2 separate regions of the Homo sapiens genome follow, and region 2 is linked to region 1. Evidence: promoter capture Hi-C in 16 types of primary human blood cells and fetal thymus (Javierre and others, 2016). All regions are on one chromosome and are shown on one strand. The core of a region is centred on a gene start or on the middle of the fragment in contact, and the rest is flanking DNA. Distances in the headings are between cores, read along the strand shown. Region 1 holds the start of TMPRSS11D (transmembrane serine protease 11D). Region 2 has its middle 35 kb from the start of TMPRSS11F.

Region 1 (2,700 bases), core at 41-2,540:
ATAGATGGTTTAAGAACAATAAAAAATATAATTCATAAACTCACTGCTTTAGTATAACAAACCTGATTAATGTTCTATGTTCTTTATTAGACTTTCTCCCATGTATAGCTTTACAAAGTAGTAGTTGATGAGTAAATACAATTTTGTGATTTGTTTTTTTCACATAAAATAAGAACAAACTCAGTATGTAAATTACTTCATAGGTTTTTAAGCTACTTTAATACATTTCTTGTATCTATTACATGAATATGAAATGATTTTATTTCTTCTATCATTGGAAGCTTAGACAGCTATCCACTTTTCACTCATATATATATATTCAAGTGCATATAACTGTATATATATTTTTATTACTTAAAATGGTTTGACTTTTGATTGAATTTTCCAATGTTCAGGAGATTTAAAATAAATTCAGCTGCACTTATTATAGCTAACACATTGTTCATGCTTTTGTTGATCCTTTCAGCATGACTTATCAGTATCATGTTTTCCTGTAGTCATAGAAAAATAATATGCATAATATATACACTTAAGTGCACACATAAACATACCAAGTTACATAATTATTTCATTGTTTTGAGATGTTAACGTGTGACTTGATTATCTCACAACTTTTTTCTTTCTTTATGTGAAAGTATAGGAAAATACTTATTCATTAACTAAAAAGAAAACCAGAGAGAGATTATTTTCTCTTAAATGTTAGCAAGAACTTTCTTGAAAATAATTCTACAACTATATAAAAAGTAGAAAAATACCGTCTTTACTTTCTAAAAGTGTACTTTAGGATTTATGGCATATTTATTTAATAGCTAGCAATAAAACTGTAATGGAAGTCAAAACACAGAATCCTCGAAAAGTTCCAAACAACACAAGAATTGTTTACTGATTGCAATTTTAAAATCCACACACCACTTTTCGAAATGTTGCACATGAGAAACAAAACCACTTCCTTATTTAAAGATATGTTGTCATAACGCTAAGCTAAGTATTTTTGTGGTTGTTTTATAAAAAATTCAGTTAAGCAACTATGTACCTTATGAAAATAATATCAAGCATATTATCTAAACAATATCTAAGAGTTTCGATGAAGTTTTCAGAGAAGTAACTAGAAGATTGCTAGACACAGTCAAAATTTGCTAAGCTTCTTTATATTTTTCCCATACTGTAAGATATAGTAAAACTTTTAAAGCTACAAAGACAAAAACAGGACTTACCTATACATTTTAATCCTTAATGAAGAGGTTCTTTTTTCTGCCTACTCAACTGCTTTGAGATTCCCACTCAAATGAATGACTCTCATGTATTACGTGTGATCTATAGTTGAGGACAAAGGAGGAAATCTCATGTTAATTAAAATCTAACTTGTTAAACAAGTTTGAGGGAATCAACAAACCAATAGTATGACTTGTGGAAGATAATTGGAAATAGACAGGGAATTTCACAAATTAGTAAGAAATTTATTTATTCTGGTAAATTGAGATTAAACACAATTACAATTGACAGGTATTTTGTGAAAGCCTGTGACTACTTCACAACTGTAGAGTCACTTTTAGTTCAAGAGGATTTGACACTTATTTTGCTCATGTTATCATATTGTTATACACCTCATTCCTCAACACAGCCAGCCAAGATCCATCAGAACATACTTTCCGTACATTAATGGGCACTACCTCTGAATTCCCTCATCTGTATGATTAAATGCAGTTTTTCTCATAATATATGAAACAGAGCATAATTGAGTAGATGCACAAAGTAAGACAAGCAAACAGAATAGTTGGAACTAAAATCCACTTTGTTTTTTTCCAAATATGATCATTTGAAAAAGCTATTCTAACACACTACTACTAGAAGAGGAGCAGACAGAAGAAGACAGTATGAGTGTGTAGGGTGTTAGGGTAAGGATGGAGAGCTCAAGAAAACAGGCAAGACTAGCAGGGAGGGGAAAAAGGGCATTCCTGTCTAACATTGCAAAGAAGCAGGATATAAATTTGGAAGGTTATACTGGGGTTACTTTGTGAGAACTAATGAATGCTAAAGAATTGGAACTTGTAATAGAATTATTACAATATTATTAGTAGTACAATATGAATTCTAGTCTTAGCTTTTTCACCAACTAATTGTGTAGCTTAAGGGAAAAAATTTACTTATTTCTCCATAAGTCACATGTATCTACTAAGAAAAGTGGAAGCTGAATCAGGAGGTCTTAGAGGACTCTCAATTATAAAATTCTATGACTTCATCTTGTAAAGCACTGACAACTAATGGTTAAATTTACTCCAATACTGCAACTTCAGATGTGTTCAGTTACTTGACTTTTTCTATATAATGTGCAAATCAAACAACAGAGACAGGAATAAGTGGTTACTTATATGTTTTTTCCCAAATATATTTGGGAAATATATTTTTTACATACAGTATCTCATGCCTGACATTCTGCCATTGATTTTTTAGCAATAAATAAATAACTATAATAAGATTTAAAAGTTTAAAAAATAAAGTTACCTAAACAAACCATTTTTAAATTTTACATGTTAACTTCAAGTACCTTTAAATATAGTTATATCATGGTATATAATTTTGTATTATGCTTTTTATACTTAATATTATTTCACAAATATATCGCTATTACTAATTTTTATTTTTAGTAGCTATATATTTATAACTTTGTATTTTTATATAATTTAAAACACAAATATGGTA
Region 2 (2,700 bases), core at 175-2,674, 280 kb after region 1:
CAAAGACATGAATTCAGTGTAGATGCCCATCAATGGTAGACTGGATACAGAAAATGTGGTACATATACACCATGGAATACTATACAGCTGTAAAAAAGAACTAGATCATGTCTTTTGCAGCAACATGGATGCAGCTGGAGGCCATTATCCTAAGCAAACTAACGCAGGTACAGAAAACCAAATACCATATGTTCTCACTTGTAAATGGGAGCTAAATATTGAGTACACATGGACACAAAGAAAGGAACAACAGACACTGGGGCCTACTTGAGGGTGCAGGGTGGGAGGAAGGGGAGGATCAAAAAAACTACCTATCAGGTAGTATGCTTATCATCTAGGTTAGGAAATAATCTGTACACCAAACCCCCACGACATGCACTTTACTTATATAAGAAACTTGCTGCCCAGTGCAGTGGCTCATACCTGTAATCCCAGCACTTTGGAAGGCCAAGGCGGATGGATCACAAGGTCAGGAGATCAAGACCATCCTGGCCAACATGGTGAAACCCTGTCTCTACTAAAAACACAAAAATTAGCCGGGCATGGTGGTGTGCACCTGTAGTCCCAGCTACTCAGGAGGCTGAGGCAGGGGGAATAGCTTAAATCTGGAAGGCAGAGGTTGCAGTGAGCCGAGATCATGCCATTGCACTCCAGCCTGGGTGACAGAGCGAGACTTCATCTCAAAAAAAAAAAAAAAAAAAGGAAAGAAACTTGCACGTGTATCCCTGAAACTAAAAGTTAAACAGTAAAATAAAATAATGGAATTGGAACACACACAACAACAACAAAATAAAATACATTTTGAAAAAGTAATCAAGCTTTCTGTAATCAATGTATTAGACTTGAAATCATCATACTCATCAGTACAAACTCAGCTTAATAGAGACACAGATTGTTACCATGGTCAAATCTGGAACAATTTGAACAATAAAATTAGTAAACTAGTATTGGATTTTAATCTAAAGTATAAAATAAGTATCCAAGAGTCCACAGTGGTATAAGTATATGATTAAATAAATAAATGAGAGAGAAGAGACAAATATCCCATGCAGAAAAATTCCAAATAATGTATGTAGATATTCCACCCTCAATGAGGTGGGTCATAACTCCCCACTCCTTACGTGTCATCTCTAAACAGTGATTTCCTTCCAAACAGTACAAATGGAAAGTGGGGAAATGTAACTTTACGGTGGAGAATCCTGAAAAACACTACCTAAGCTAGATGATCAAAGTAATATCAACAGAGATAAGTTATACTGACAGTATAAACCACCGACACAATATGATTAAAATGGCACTTTACCTCTGTGATCTTCTCCCAAAAACCCGTAACTCCAAATCTAATTATGGGACTAACATCAGAGAAATCCTAATTGAGGAGCGTTCTATAAAATACTTGACAAGTACTTCTCAAAACCGTTAAGATCATCAAAAGCAAAGAAAATCTGAGAAACTATTACAGCTAAAAGGATCCTAAGGAGACATGATGGCTAAATGTAATGTAGTATCCAAAATGGGATCCTGGCACAGAAAGGGGCCATTGGATAAAAACTAAGGAAATAGGAATTAAGTATGGGCTTTCATAATAATAATGTACCAATATCACTTCATTAATTGTAACAAATGTACCACACTTTAGATAGCAGCAACAGGGGAAACTGTGAAATATATAGAAACTTTCCCTACCATCTTAACTTTTTTGTAAATCTAAAACTGTTTTAAAATGAATAGTTCATCTTTATAAAAAGTAAAAAACAAACTGATCTTACCAAGAGCAACTGGCATTAATTTCAATTATATCAACTGAAGTTTAAAAAGTATAAATTTTGATAAACTAACAAATGAGTTTCCAGAAAAGCAGGAAAAAAATTTATGAGAAATCAAGATTACACATTATAAAGTATTATTTCTTTTATGACCTAAAATTAGAACACCAAAAATTGTATTTTTGTAATTTATTAGTTTATATTGTTACCCACATACCATTTTCATCCCTATTATGTTTTATAATATAATAGCTTTTTAAAATTAAAAGCTTAAGGAGCATTGCATTTTCATTTTTCACTACTACCTGAAAATTATTATTTAGCCCCCAGTCAGTTGCAGAGATGTATGCCTATAGTCCCAGCTTCTTGGGAGGCTGAGATGATACGATTCTTGAGCCCAGGAGTTGAAGTCTTGCCTGGGCAACATAAAAAGAACCTGTCCCTTTAATATAATAATAAATAGATAAATAAGATCATCAATGTTATACTTACCTCACCACCACATAGGAAACTGCTTAATAAATGCTACGTATTATTAGTGAGCTACAGTTAGTACCCAGTTACTGATTCTCAAGAATTATTCTTCATAGAATGTATTTAACACCTCAGTTCAATTTTCAACTACTTCATACAAAATCACTTTATACCTAACTGGTGTTACATAGCTGATGGAAGAGATCTGCATACATATTTGCATGTGAAATTAAATATCTGAGAAAAATGAGTGAAGAAGTAGGATTTAAGAGTAGTTTCTGATTTAAATTTGCTGATTTCCAATTATTGCACTGGACACTTTTTAATACATTTCCTTAATTTTTACAAATGCTGTGAAGTACGCACTTTATTCCCATTAAACTGGAGAGCAAACTGAGATCAGGGAGCTTGAATAAACTTCTCAGGTCACAGGATCACAACATGAGTAACAGGATTGAGA

The links. The method cuts DNA at HindIII sites, captures the fragments that hold promoters and counts their contacts. A CHiCAGO score of 5 or more calls a contact.
Region 2: a contact is called between a fragment that was not itself captured here and the fragment with the promoter of TMPRSS11D in region 1, in 3 of 17 cell types (monocytes, megakaryocytes and endothelial precursors). The highest score is 5.6, in monocytes.

What each region holds. Positions count from the first base shown.
Region 1 is chr4:67,882,712-67,885,411 of GRCh38, forward strand. It overlaps TMPRSS11D (transmembrane serine protease 11D), which reads right to left and starts at 1,291. Exons shown (of 10, transcript NM_004262.3): 1 at 1,215-1,291. The coding sequence starts at 1,222. The HindIII fragment of the contact is 7,558 bases long and covers 1,140-2,700 here.
Region 2 is chr4:68,163,890-68,166,589 of GRCh38, forward strand. No RefSeq gene overlaps it. Among named protein-coding and RNA genes, the nearest start is that of TMPRSS11F, 35 kb to the left of the region's middle. The HindIII fragment of the contact is 1,217 bases long and covers 817-2,033 here.